5 separate regions of the Homo sapiens genome follow, and all the other regions are linked to region 2. The links are contacts of gene promoters, found by promoter capture Hi-C in human tissues and cell types (Jung and others, 2019). All regions are on one chromosome and are shown on one strand. Each heading gives the region's core, a stretch centred on a gene start or on the middle of the fragment in contact. The rest is flanking DNA. Distances are from core to core; before and after follow the strand shown. Region 1 has its middle 6.0 kb from the start of TRX-CAT1-8. Region 2 holds the start of UTS2R (urotensin 2 receptor). Region 3 overlaps FOXK2 (forkhead box K2). Region 4 overlaps FOXK2 (forkhead box K2). Region 5 holds the start of SLC16A3 (solute carrier family 16 member 3).

Region 1 (2,736 bases), core at 100-2,599, 130 kb after region 2:
ATCGTCATTTTCATTCTCCATATTTTTTTAGTTACGACGATTCTTTTCCTTCATGGTTTTGACCATTAGTGTTTTTAATTTCTGTTGTGATACAGTACTTTGTCTTGAGCTCCACAATTGTGTAATAAAATAACAATACACTGGCCGGATGCGGTGGCTCACGCCTGTAATCCCAGTACTTTGGGAGGCTGAGGTGGGCGGATCACGAGGTCAGGAGATCGAGACCATCCTGGCTAACACAATGAAACCCCATCTCTACTAAAAATACAAAAAATTCACCGGGCGCGGTGGCTCACGCCTGTAATCCCAGCACTTTGGGAGGCCAAGGCAGGCGGATCGTGAGGTCAGGAGATCAAGACCATCCTGGCTAACGTGGTGAAACCCCGTCTCTACTAAAAATACAAAAAATTAGCTGGGTGTGGTGGTGGATGCCTGTAGTTCCAGCTACTTGGGAGGCTGAGGCAGGAGAATGGCGTGAACCCGGGAGGCGGAGCTTGCAGTGAGCCCAGATCACGCCACTGCACTCCAGCCTGGGCGACAGAGCGAGGCTCCGTCTCAAAAAAAAAAAAAAAAAAATACAAAAATTTAGCCGGGCATGGTGGCATGCGCCTGTCGTCCCAGCTACTCGGGAGGCTGAAGCAGGAGAATCGCTTGAACCTAGGAAGTGGAGGTTGCAGTGAGCAGAGATCATGTCACTGCACTCCAGCCTGGGCGACAGACAGAGACTCCATCAATAAATAAACAAAATAACAATACACCACACATACTGACTTGCGAGTGTGTGAAGGGGTTCTGTCCTGAGAACACACATCTCTTCAGCTACTTTTGCTGTGTTATTAGCAATTTGTGTGTTATTTCTTCTGGAACTTCCAGAATTTCTCAGGACAATTGCATATGTTTCAGATGTGCAAAGCCTTGATGTGACTTCACACTCCAGGGATCACAGTTGGTGCTGCCACAGGCGTGTGCCCTGCAAGCACAGGCATTCCAAGAAATGGTTCACTGCAGCAAAATTTCTGCTGTGGGGCAGGGACCAGCTCCATAGAATCTGCCCTCCAGGAGGGATTTCCCATCCTGACCAGCATTCAAGAGTAGGTTCTCTGCTCACACTATGGGAGTCAGATGTTCGGAGAATGTTCCAGACTGTGTGTTGGGAAGTATTTCAAAGCTTGATCTCCCCAAGCCTTGTGTGCTCCTCTTGCCTGGGGCTAGTGGTCAGGAGCCCCGTGGGTCAATTTCTGGCCAGGTGAGCACGTGGCAGCTGGCCATAGCATAGCTGGGTCGAAGGGACTGCAGAGCCCAGCACAACCCCCATGCCTCCTCCAGTGCTTCCCCAGGAGGCAGGGTGGACACTGCCCTACCTGGGGCCCTATGGCTGGGCCTCAGATCTTCCCAGCCAGCCTCTTTGGCCAGGTGAACTCAAACTCCTGGACTCCAGGGATCATCCCACCTCAGCCTCGTGAGTAGCTGGGACTACAGGCATGAGCCACTGTGCCCAGCCAAAAAAAAAATTTTTTTTTTTTTTTTGAGAGGGAGTCTTACTCTGTCGCCCAAGCTGGAGTGCAGTGGTGTGATCTCGGCTCACTGCAACTTCCACCTCCCAGGTTGAAGCGATTCTCCTGCCTCAGCCTCCCGAGTAGCTGGGATTACAGGTGCTCACCACCACGCCCGGCTAATTTTTGTATTTTTAGTAGAGACGAGGTTTCACCGTGTTGGCCAGGCTGGTCTCGAACTCCTGACCTCAAATGATCCACCCTCCTCGGCCTCCCAAAGTGCTAGGATTACAGGCATAAGCCACTGCGCCCAGCCAAAAGATTTTTCTAAAATTATGGCTGTGGAGGTGTGGAGTCACTGGTAGCAGGAGCAAGAGGTGTAGACTTGATCATGCAGTGTTGGCAATAGCCAGTGGAGACCTGGGTCCCAGGTCCTGCCTCCCCACCCTCTACCTCCACCCCCAGTGGAGGCAAAGACCTTGACTCTCAGTCTCCAGCTTTCTTCCCTCTACCAAGTCCCCTAGCCTGGACACTCACATTCTCTGATTCTGTAGACAGCGGGGACTAAAAAACCTGTGCTGTGATCATGGTTAGTCAACCCATGAAAAGATGCACAGGCCGGGCACGGTGGCTCTCGCCTGCAACCCCAGGACTTCGGGAGGCCAAGGCTGGCGGATCACTTCAGGCCAGGAGTTTGAGACCAGACTGGGCAGCATGGCAAAACCGCATCTGTACAAAAAATACAAAATTTAGCCGAGCGTGGTGGTGCACACCTGTAGTCCCAGCTACTTGGGAGGCTGAGGTGGGAGGACTGCTTGAACCTGGGAGGTTGAGGCTGCAGTATGCCGAGATCGTACCACTACTACACTCCAGCCAGGGTGACAGAGTAAGACCATGTCTCCAAAAAAAAAAGATACCCAGCATAACACCACAATGAGATGCCACCACGTACCCACTGGAGTGACTGTGATGAAAGAAAAGGGTGGTCATGGCCGGGTGCGGTGGCTCACCCCTGTAACCCCAGCACTTTGGGAGGCTGAGGCGGGCGGATCACCTGAGGTCAGGAGCTCGAGACCAGTCTGGCAACATGGTGAAACCCCGTCTCTATTAAAAATACAAAAATTAGCTGGGCTTGGTAGTGGGTGCCTGTAATCCCAGCTACTCGGGAGGTTGAGGCAGGAGAATCGCTTGAACTCAGGAGGCAGAGGTTGCAGTGAGCTGAGATTGCACCACTGCCCTCCAG
Region 2 (2,700 bases), core at 54-2,553:
CTTGCGGGAAATTTAATTCTTGGAGCAGGCATTCTGGGTCCTGAGTGCTTTTCCCCAGCCCTAGCCCCTAGACTCCAGCTTAGTAATCAGCTCTCACAGAACCATCACGTCGGAGGCAGCCTTCCACCCCCTTTCCTCCCGCGCACAGGCAGGATGAGCTGCTCCCCTTTCGGGTCGGAAGCTGCAGCTGTATTTGGTTTCAGTTCGGCTGTTTTCAGCTCACAGAGAATGAACTGTCTTATTGTGTGACCCTTGCTCCGTCCAGCGGACGCTCGGAGACCAGAGGGACTTTTCCCGCCCTCTCCAGCCCAGCCTCGCCTCCCCAGCACGTGGCAAACGTCCCACGGAGGGGACTGGTGGGCATCTGGGGCTCCCCCGGATCCAGCTGATTGCAGGAGCCTCTCGGCCATTCACACTTGGCCACCTCCTCTCCCCCAGCAGAACCCCTTCAGCTTTAGGGGCCGGTCCGCGGCCTCAGGCAGCAGATGAGCCCCGGGCGGAGTGGAGTGGGCGAGGCCAGCTCCTCGCTGGGGGCCCTTTAGACCCCGTGTTCACAGCTCTCCAGCTCTCCTCTAGTCTAATTTATTAATGTTCTGTGTCTTTTTCTTTCAGGGGTTCAGCATGAGTGAAGGCCCACATCCTACCTCCGAGCAGCAAGTGAAACCGAGTGGGGGCCAGCACCCAGCTCAGGGGCTCGAGGGTGAGGCTGTGGGGTCCTTCCTCCTACCCCGCGGGGCCCTGCAGCTCCCAGCGTCACTTCCGTGGATGTGGCCACCACGAGTCCCTGCCGAGGCCTGGAGAGGCTGCGTGGGCTTCTAAGAGCATCTGTGGGAGACCCGCAACAGGGGCGGGGTCAAGGCCCCCAAAGAGCCCGTCCCCGCCTGGGCGGGTGACTCCCTCCCTCCCTTACCTCCTTTCTATGACCCTCTCGGGGTTTAGGGGTGTTCCTGCCCCCCACCTGCGCGCGGGCGGGTCCAGGGCTTGGTGGACACGGAGAATCCCAGGCTCCGTGCCCTGCAAACACGGGCGTGAGGGGCGCAGGGGTGAACGCTGGAGGCGGAGAACCCAAGAGGGGCTGCGGGGTCAGCCTTGGGGCAGCCGGGCTGGAGGCAGCTTCGCTCCGCAGACGCAGACGCGAGACCCGCCTGGGACCCTCCGCCGACCCCGCTGCGGCCCCGCGACCCCCGCGTCTTCCCGGCGCCGCGCGGTCAGCGCCGCCCCCTAGACACCCGGCGCCGTCCCCTCCGCGCGCCTGCTGCCCGCTGGGGTTATTTTAATACCGGGCCCTGGCGCGGGGCGCGGCGCATTCCCAGCTGGCGGCGGGCAGGTGGCGGCGGCGCAGAGACCCGGCGCGGGGCGGGGGGCGCGGCTTTGGTGGCGGGACTGGCGGGCGCCCCTGCCGTGTGCTCTGGAAGCCGAGGCCACCGCGGAGCCCCTCGCGCCCCCTCTGCGCTGGGACAGGGGAGCGCGCCTCGGAAAGTTCCCCGCGGCCCCGCTGCGCGAGGAGTTTGGAGCCGCGAGCGGCTGCCCCCACGCGCGACCCCAGGCTCGGCGGGCAGGTCTGGCCGCTCAGTGACCGGAGGCAGGTGGGTCCTCGGTGGGTGACCGGGAGCGCGCGGGGACTGCCGGGTCTGTGCCCTTCGGGGCCCTCCGCAGGGCTGGGCCGGGGTTTCGCGGTGGGAACCCACCCTGGGCGAGGGGAGCGGGGTCCAGCGAGGCGGCTTCTCCCGTGCCGTGGAACTTTCGGCCCCTCCCCTTCCCCCCTAGCGACCCTGGAGCAATCCTAGCGGCCCGGCGGCCGCTGTCCCCCTGCCCGTGACTCGGGCTCGCGCACAACTGGGGAGCCCGGTGCACCCTCGGCTTCTGCGCCGTCCCCTGGGTGAGGGCTCTGGAAATGCCCTGGGTGGGGGCAGCAAGGGGGTGAGGGTCCCCTGGACAGATGGAGCTGGGAGCTGCTCGGCCTGGTGGGAAAGGGCGGACAGGGCACATTTCCAGGCCCTGGAAGGCCCCCAGCGCCCCCACCTGTTGACAACTCCCCACCCCAGCCAAGACTGCTCCCTGCGCAGCCATGAGTGTTCGGCCTAAATTCAGCGTGGCTCGTGGAATCAGGCAGCCTCCTGTGTCTTGTTTCTTCAGCCCACCACCGCGCTGTTTCATCCAGGCTGCTGACCCCAGCGGCGACTCCTTCACTGGCTTCATGTCACAGTTTGCCTGCCCCGTCCACTGGGGACATTTGAGCTGTTTCCAGCTTCTTAGGAGTCAAGCTGCCGTGAACTTTCGCACGCTTGTCATTTTCTGAACGTTGGCAGCCCTTTATCTAAGGTACTAACCTGAGAGTAGAATTGCCGGGTGAGAAGGTATAGGCGGTCAACTCTGCAAATCGTGCCAATGGCTTTCCAAAGCGGCGGCACAGTCCAGGTTCCCAGCAACAGGAAACGGCAGGGCCAGCTCCTCCACAGCCCCCACGCCTGTTGACAAGGATATCTGCCTTTTCACGCGTTCATCCTTGTCAGCACGCAGGGGCTCCTGTGGCCCTGACTGGCATTTCCCTGCTTGTTGGCTGCGTGGGTGTCCTTTTCAGGAAGTCCCCGGTCACGGTTTTGGTCTCTTTTTTTCAAATGGGTTGTTTGTCTTTTCCTTACTAATTTGCAGTTCTTCCCTATATTTTTCTTACCAGCTTTTTGTCTATGTTTCTTCTTT
Region 3 (2,700 bases), core at 81-2,580, 230 kb after region 2:
TGCTGGGATTACAGGCGTGAGCCACCGCACCTGGCCTCTTGTTCATGTTTTATGTGTAAATTGGTCCTCTGCTATTTCTGTTGCTCAGAGGTGGAAAGGAGAAGGGAACACGATAAAGTCACACATCCACACTGTTGACAGGGGTTTGGCTTCCAGGGAACACACCTCTGTGGCCTCAGGGCTATGTCCTGAATTCTAAAACGGGGCTCTCACGGCTGACCCGATGTCACTGGGTCCCCGTTTGCTGCTTGAGTCTCTTCGGAGCCCAGTGTTGACTCCCGCTCTTCGTGGCTGCCCCGGCTATCTGGCCATGAGGAGCTGACCACGCACCTGGCCGGACTCACATCCGCTCCGCTAGGGAAGACCTGGGGGCGGAGGTCGGTCTCTGACCAGCCAGCGTCCCTGCAGGGGACTGCGAGTAGGAGGCGGGTATTGCCCACGCCAGGGCCTGTGGTCTGAGAGGGCTGGCCCTTGACGGACAGGTGGGCAAGTCCCCCTCCCACATCTCTAGGCACCAGGGCGTAGCGTACCATGTGTGCTGTGTTTGTGGTTGGGTTCAGGTACTGCCCTGTAGGCGTGTCTGCTCTGAGCCTCCTGGGACAGCCTGAAGTGGTTGCTGCACAGCTGCTTTGGGGCCTCCCAGGGGTGTGTTCCTGCTCCCACCCTGGGGTGCTCTGAGTTGGTCTTGGGTTAGAGAAGTGCAGTGGCTGGTGTGTGCGCAGCCTAGGGGCCTAGGACCTGCTTCTCAGAGCATCACGGGGCCCACCAAGAAGTGCCCCCTGGGGAGGTGACAGCGTCTTCCAGAAATGCCGCCGCCCACAAGGAGGACTGGCCTGTGCCGGAAGCTGGAGATGGTGGGGTCCTGATGGCACCTGGTAGGTGAGGGTGCCCCAGAGAAACAGAGCCAAGGCGGCGGCCTGGAGACAGATTCTGTGGAATCTGCCCACTCTGTTGTGGGGCCTGCCAAGCTCAGCATCTGCAGGGTGGACCGAACCCCGGGGAAAGAGTCAGTGCTGGATTCTCAAGAGTCCAGAGGCCATCCAGGGCAGAGTGCTCCCCTCAGAGGACCTCAGTCTTTTCTTAGTCCTTCACCTGATTGGATGAGGCCCACCCACTCATGGCGATCAGCTGATTTACTCAGAGCTGACTGATTTAAATGTTAATTTCATCTAAAGAAGTAACTATACAGAAACATCCAGATTAATGGTTGACCAAAATCTGGGCACTGTGGCTCAGCCAGGCTGGCACATAACATTACCCATCGCATGTTAGTTGGAAGCTTGGCCTTTGGAATTAACTCAGCCTGGTCAGCCGTTAGCAGCCAGCAGTCTCTGTTCTGCCCACACACCTCTGTGGACTGACCCAGGACACAGGTGAGCAGCATCCATGAGAAACTGTGGTGCTTCTCTCCTATGGGACAGATGGAGCCCCGCTCCCTTCTGTGTGGAAATGGTCCAGGAGCATCTTGTGCGGGTGGTGGGGGGGCGAGGGCAGGGCCTCCGCATGAGGGAGAGCAGCGAGCGGCAGCCACTCCTTCGCCGAGCCAGCAGGGCCATCTCCTGTCTGCCTCAACCACTACTGGACTCAGCCTTTCTCCCCCAGCAGTGACATCAAAATAGCCTATTTATAGGACATAACAAAGATGATGCCAGCTGTTAATAAAAATGTCCGCTAATCAGGCAGTTCACTTGCTGCAGTTTTTTGGGGTCCCAAGGGCCCAGCCCAGGCTCCTGTGCCCTTGGCCACCGTGGGCCAGTCCCTGGGGTCTTGTGGGAGCCTCCGCGGGCCTGGGAGTGGCAGGACCCTTAGAGGGCGAGAGTTCACATGAGAGCGTGGGGTTCTGACTCGCGAGGGTTCACGTGAGAGCGTGGGGTTCTGAGTCGCGAGGGTTCACGTGAGAGCGTGGGGTTCTGACTCCCTCGTGTCATTTCAGCCGCGGCGAGTCCTTTGCACATGTTGGCAACACACGCATCCGCATCGGCCTCCCTGCCCACAAAGCGCCACAACGGTGACCAGCCGGAGCAGCCGGAGCTGAAGCGGATCAAGACAGAAGACGGCGAGGGCATCGTCATTGCCCTGAGCGTGGACACGCCACCGGCAGCCGTAAGGGAAAAGGGTGTCCAGAACTAGCGACCGGGAGAGCTTTTCTTTAACGATATCAACTCTGTGGTGCCAAAAGGAGACGCGGCCTCCCGCCAGCACTCGGGGGTGCAGGGCCCTGTGGTTGGACTTCACCTCTCAGCACTGAAAACCCAAAACCCAGCTGGCCTTAACACTCCTTAAAGACAGAAGTCACACTTGAACAAAACCCACACACAACAAAACCTGATTTGGGAGACGGTGTCTCCACTGAGCACCTGCTGGGCTGAGCTTCTACCTACGAGTGAAACTCTGTCCTCCCGCGAGGACCAGGCATCGCTGTGTGAGGACGGCACGGCCAGCGCCTGCTGTGAGTGGGTCTCCCAAGACTAGGCCTCAGGACGCGGGGGGAGCCATCCCCGCCGCCCTCACAGGACCCACCAGGCAGCGGAGACATGTGGAATTAGAGTATTTTGAGGTGTCCTTTCTTTACAAAATAATGGGGTCTTGGGCATTTCACATCACTCCATTTCTACTGAGACTTTCAGAATCACACAGGCCCTTTCCGTGGATTTCATTTGGGGCAAAGAAACAACGTAGTTTTGTTTTTGTTTTCAGCCT
Region 4 (2,700 bases), core at 183-2,682, 200 kb after region 2:
TTCATGTGTCTGCATAGGATTTGTGAAGTGTGGATTGTTTGAGATATTTCCCTTTGACCAATGCAGTTCATATTTGAAATGTAGGAGAAATTTAAAACCCAGCCTATCCTTCCCTTTGGCATTCTCCTGTCTTCCTCATCTAATCCTGCTAATGGACAGAAGTTTTGAAGTTTGCAGAGACAGTTTTCAAACCGCATTTTACCAAGGAACACTTAGAAGACATCTTAACCAGTTGGCCGGGGTAAAAAACAGATGAACGTGGTGTGCCCTGTCTCAGCCGGGGAGCCCACCTGGTCGTGGAACCCCGGGGCTACCCCCAAGAGACACTTTGAAATCTGCAAAATATTCCCTTTGGTCAGCTCACACACCAATAATTTTTTTTTTTTTTTTTGAGTCAGAGTCTCGCTCTGTTATGCCAATAATTTTAACCCTTTAGATTATGTAGGTTTTTTCTCTGTGTATCTGTGTTGTGTTGGCTGTTTACTGGATGTATATGAGAATCTTGCTATTTGAAATAATTTGGCAGTGGGTAGGTTTGAAATATAGAATATTAAAAACATAGAGAAGAAATGTATGTATGCTTATAGTTTTTTAATTCATTAAGTAACCAGGAACATCTATAGAATTTCTTTGAGGCTTTAATGAGTAAATGATCCTTTAAAAAAACATCTAAACTACATGGCTTAGTGGTAAGGATGGTGCAGGGGCAACTGTTTTCTATTTATTGAAGGGGAAAAACCTTTTTTGTTTTAACCACAGATGTATAAACATGTTATGTTAAAAAATAGCCTACCGGCCGGGCACAGTAACTCATGCCTATAATTCTAGCACTTTGAGAGCCGAGGCAGGTGGATCGCGTGACTCTAGGATTTCGAGAGCAGCCTGGGCAACATGGCGAGACCCTGTCTCTACAAAAAATAAAAAAAAATTAGCTGAGTGTGGTGGCTTACGCTTGTAGTCCCAGCTACTCCAGAGGCTGAGGTGGGAGGATCACCTGAGCCCAGGAAGCAGAGGTTACAGATATCTGTGATCACACCACTGCACTCCAGCCTGGGTGACAGAGCAAGACCCTGTCTCAAAAAGGAAAAAAAAAGCCTACCAGCCACGTCTTCCATATTTCCTTTGTGGAGGGGCTTGGGGGTCTTTAATCATGGAAGGTACAGAATGAGACCCAGCCTCCCCTCTGGCCCACCTTGTGCCCACCCCCCATACCTGGAGTGTCTATACCCTGTCCTGCCTGCCTTCCTGTCTACAGCAAGGGGGTATCTCTTAATTGACCATTAGGAAAATGCTGGATTTGGAGAGTAGTTCCATATTCAGTTACATGTCAGGGTCTCTTAACATATTGCATGCTAAATTCTGGCCGTATTTACTCTATAAAACTGAGGCTGTGCTTCAAACTATATACATACACACACACACTCTCTCTCTCTCTCTCTCTCTCTCTCACACACACACACACACACACACACACACACACACACAACCAGATAATAACTTCTACCCATGTTCCAGTGACCATGGCTTTATGGCTTTGTCAAGGAGAGAAACTCCACATGGGGTCCAGCTTGCTCTGTGGGAGTGTGTGAGGGTCCCTCAGAGTTTACAGCTTATTCTGATGGTTTGAGATACCAGTTACCTGGGGCTTTGTCAGTGTGTTTCTAAGAAGCTTTATTAGACTCTAATGTGTTTCTCTTAAGTGGTATTTCTGTGTGTTTTTTCTAACATCCATTTATTTGAGAACTACCTATGAACAGGACAAGGCTTTCTTGCTAAAGAGGGTGGCTGGATAAAGGCCTGGCCTCAGTTTTGGGGGGGCCCAAGTCAGGACAGGTCTTTTGGGGAGCAGAGCCCTTGGAGCAAGGCTCTCCTGGACCACAGTCGTGAAGTGGCGAGGACCCCACGGGACCCCTCATGCATGCCCTGCTTTCTGTCGTCTATTGCAGGTGCCTGCACAGCTCACGTCGGCAGGGAATGACAGACTAGCACACGTCAGGCACCCTTCTCTGCTGAACTGCTATTAAACTTGTTTCTGTTGAAACATTTTCTCTCCTGTCTAGATGGAGGTCTGTAAGTCTACAGCTGCATCTCTTTCCCCAGTAAGGCCACTCCTGTGTCATTTCATGCCTCGTGGCTCCAGCTAATTAAGCGGGAGAGGGATTAGTTTCTCCAGATTCCTCCTAGTTCATGGACATTACTCTCTCTCTTTTTTTTTTTTTTTTGAGATAGAGTTTTGCTCTTGTTGCCCAGGCTGGAGTGCAATGGCGCGATCTCGGCTCACTGCAACCTCCGCCTCCCAGGTTCAAGCGATTCTCCTGCCTCAGCCTCATGAGTAGCTGGGACTACAGGCTTGAGCCACCACACCCGGCTAATTTTGTATTTTTAGCAGAGACGGGGTTCCTCCATGTTGGTCAGGCTGGTGTTGAACTCCCGACCTCGGGTGATCTGCCTGCCTCGGTCTCCCGAAGTGCTGGGATTACAGGCGTGAGCCACCGCGCCTGGCCAATGTACTTTGAATTTCTTTCTGTCCTCAGCTGTACCCTTGGCTGTCAGAATACTGACCCTCACGGGCTCTTCCTGTGCCATGAGATTCTCTGAGCCGCCCTTCCCAGTGCCTCAGACCTTATTCTGACTTCCTCCCTCCTGGCTTACAACAAAAGCCAGGTGTTTTGTATTGTCTACCTATGGTATAGCTTTTTG
Region 5 (2,752 bases), core at 32-2,531, 140 kb before region 2:
TGCTCACAGGCACGTGCCCTCATCTTGATGTTTGGGGATGGGGGTGGTTGGGCCCCAGGTAGGGGTGAGGGCCAGACCCAGCCTCTGTGAATGCCAGCGGGAGGGTGGGCTTGTAACATTACATAGAAAGAACAGGCGGCCTTACTGGACCTGATGTCCCGCAAGGCTGGGCTGCAGATGGAGAGCCAAGGCCCACACGGCCTCACTGTCAGGGGTGGCCTCCCCTTGCCCTCTGGAGGGGTCCTCCATTGATACCCCCTGCCTCCTTTGTGTGTGAAGGCACGGGCTTACCAGTGCCTCGGTCCCCGAAGCCCCCGGGTCCGGGAGGGGCCAGTTAAAGCATTCCTGTGGCCCTGGCAGGGTGGCCCTGACAACTAGACTCCTTGGTCCAGGCCAACAAAGGCCTTACTCCCTGGAGCCACCTCAAACCTCAGCACCCAAAGCGGCCCGTTATTTCCATGTTGCAAATGAGAGAAAACAGGCTGGGAGAAGCACCTCACGAGGTCCAGCGGGTGGGCAGCCCTCGCCTCCCCGAAGGTGGGAGCCGCCCCGGCCTCCGCGTCGGGTTCTGGGCCGCGAGAGGGGCGGGGCAGGGGCGCAGGGCTGGAGTCGGTGGCTTTGTAGGGCCCCGCAGGGCGCGGAGCCACCTGGGGAAACGGAAGTTCAGGGAGGGCGAGGCCGTGCCCCACATCCAGGCAGCGCAGGCCGCGGGCCGCTCCCCTAGCCAGGAAGAGCCGCCGTCCGCACCGGGACCGGAGAGGAAGCGGAGGTCTGAAGGGGGACAGGTCGGACGTGGCCTCAGAGAGGGAGGATGTGGGCCCCGGAGCTGAGCCAGGCGGCCGGAACCCCACGGGACCCGCGCGCACCTCCCCACCAAAGGGGCCCCGGCGTTGGGGGGCGAGGGGTCGCTGCCCTGGAGGACGTTGGGACCTGCCGCGCTGCGCTCCGAGGCGGGGAAACGGAGGGACGGCGGGGCGGAGGGGCGAAGCGAGCCTGGACTCCGGGGGAGGCGAGGCCGGGAAGACCCAGTCCCGAGGAGCAGAGGGGGCGGGCCAGCTCCGGGCCGGGGGCGCCGACGGGGCCGGTTCCGGTTGGGGGGGTCCCTGGGCCCGGCGGGGTTGCGGGACGCGCCGTCGGGGAGCTGCGGCCCGGGAGCCCGTCCGGAGGCGGCGCGGGGTCCGGGCGGGGCGCGCAGGGGCGGCGCCAGGCGGTGACGTGCGCGGGGGACGTGCCGCGCCAGCGACCCGAGCACTTAAAGTCGCCCCCGGCGCGGAGCGGACCGGCAGAGGCGGGCAGAGGCGGCGAGAGGCGGCGAGAGGCGGGCTGAGGCGGCCCAGCGGCGGCAGGTAGGCGCGGCCGCGATGCTCGCGCGCGGGCCGGGGCCCAGGAGCTCCCCCGTGCCGGGCAAGGGGGCGACCTCGGGGTCCGCGCTCTCACCCCCACCCCGCCCACTTTGTCCATCAGGTCCGGGGGCGCCCGGGGCATGGACTAGCCTTCTCGACCCCGAGCGGGCCCCACCGAGGGCTCCCGAGAGCCAGCCGCGCCCCTCCGCGCCCTCGCATACCTGGCTGCCCAGTCTCGTCTCCCCCGGTCCGGCCCGGCGCCCACCCGTCGGGCTGCCCTCAGGGGCTGGGCTCGGGCCAGGAGATGGCTGCGCCGGCGGCCAAGCCCGGTCCGGGTATAAATAGCTCGGTCCGCGGTGGCGGGGGGCGCGGGCTATATTTGGTGGGGCTGCTGCAGCCCTCCCTGTATGGGTGGCCTCCCCGAGGGAGTGGGGAGCACTTGCGCTCGGGCCGTGGCGCTTTCCCCTGTTCGCAACACCCTGAACACTCCCCGACCCACACCCGCCCTTGGGCAATGACTAACAGCCCGAGACCGTGCAGGGAAGTGGGGGACCCTCTCCAGAGCCAGGCTGGGCTCCCTGGGTTCGCCCTACCTCCACCCCTGGCCCCCAGCTCGTGGGAAAACCAGGCGCAGCCTTTGGTAGCCTCCCACTTCCTAACCCACGCCTCAGTTTCCCTATACGAAAAGTGGGTTGGTCAGGAGCCTCCCTGGGTGTTGGGCCAGTCAAGAGACAGGAGCCGCAGAGTGGAAGGGAAGCCCTTAGCTCTGGCCGGGGCCTCCAGGGGTGGCTGGAGTCGGTGAGGGACGATGGGGGGAGCCGAGGGGCGGCTGTCCTCCTCTCTGTCCCAGAGGCATGGGCTGAAAGGGTCCCTCTCCTGGTGATGGCCAGAGTCAGGCCTGCTGGGCGGGAAATGGCAGTTGGCCCACCCCAAGGCCCAGGGGCTTGTCCATGCTGAGCACAAGGGTGGGAGGTCTTGTGTCTGTTGGGGCCGGGGAGTCCAAGGTCCCAGCTTCACTGCACAGGCCTGGAAGTCAGGTGGGTGCTGGCCTGACCCTGCTGAAGGAGGGTCTATTCCGCCAGCGTGGTGTGGAGGCGGCTGGGCTCGACTCCCTCATGGAGGGAAGGAACTGAGGAGGTGCTAGGAGGCCGTGGGGGGGTGTCTGCCCCCAGAGAGGCTTTGAGTGCATGGGGGCTCTGCCGTGGCACGTGCAGCGTCTGTCCCCCAGGGCCCCATGGTGTGGACAGAGTCTGGGGTGGGCACCTGGAGGCCTGGTCTCAAGGCAGGCTTGGTAACGACCCCATGTGACCTTGGGCAGGGCCCGCCATCCAGGCCACCCAGAAAGCCATGTGGCCTGCACGATCAGGCCAGACCCCACTGACTGGAGCGGGGCACTTTACTTTGGAGGG

The links. Contacts are between HindIII fragments. The study calls those that stand out against the background at their distance.
Region 1: a fragment that was not itself captured here is called in contact with the fragment with the promoter of UTS2R in region 2 in 1 of the 25 tissues and cell types used here (bladder).
Region 3: a contact is called between a fragment that was not itself captured here and the fragment with the promoter of UTS2R in region 2, in 1 of the 25 tissues and cell types used here (IMR-90 fibroblasts).
Region 4: a contact is called between a fragment that was not itself captured here and the fragment with the promoter of UTS2R in region 2, in 2 of the 25 tissues and cell types used here (IMR-90 fibroblasts and lymphoblastoid cells).
Region 5: the fragment with the promoter of SLC16A3 here is called in contact with the fragment with the promoter of UTS2R in region 2 in 1 of the 25 tissues and cell types used here (dorsolateral prefrontal cortex).

What each region holds. Positions count from the first base shown.
Region 1 is chr17:82,499,418-82,502,153 of GRCh38, forward strand. No RefSeq gene overlaps it. Among named protein-coding and RNA genes, the nearest start is that of TRX-CAT1-8, 6.0 kb to the left of the region's middle. The HindIII fragment of the contact is 3,093 bases long and covers 1-2,736 here.
Region 2 is chr17:82,370,462-82,373,161 of GRCh38, forward strand. UTS2R (urotensin 2 receptor) reads left to right here and starts at 1,304. Exons shown (of 3, transcript NM_018949.3): 1 at 1,304-1,586; 2 at 2,137-2,322. The HindIII fragment of the contact is 34,629 bases long and covers 1-2,700 here.
Region 3 is chr17:82,599,370-82,602,069 of GRCh38, forward strand. It overlaps FOXK2 (forkhead box K2), which reads left to right. Exons shown (of 9, transcript NM_004514.4): 9 at 1,934-2,700. The coding sequence ends at 2,130. Among named protein-coding and RNA genes, the nearest start is that of FOXK2-AS1, 12 kb to the left of the region's middle. RefSeq lists an enhancer at 623-872. The HindIII fragment of the contact is 9,195 bases long and covers 1-2,700 here.
Region 4 is chr17:82,572,116-82,574,815 of GRCh38, forward strand. The region is part of intron 4 of FOXK2 (forkhead box K2); the gene reads left to right. Among named protein-coding and RNA genes, the nearest start is that of FOXK2-AS1, 15 kb to the right of the region's middle. The HindIII fragment of the contact is 5,132 bases long and covers 1-2,700 here.
Region 5 is chr17:82,227,761-82,230,512 of GRCh38, forward strand. SLC16A3 (solute carrier family 16 member 3) reads left to right here and starts at 1,282. Exons shown (of 5, transcript NM_004207.4): 1 at 1,282-1,346. RefSeq lists silencers at 338-567, 658-737, 788-927, 1,088-1,407, 1,528-1,687 and 1 more. The HindIII fragment of the contact is 28,829 bases long and covers 1-2,752 here.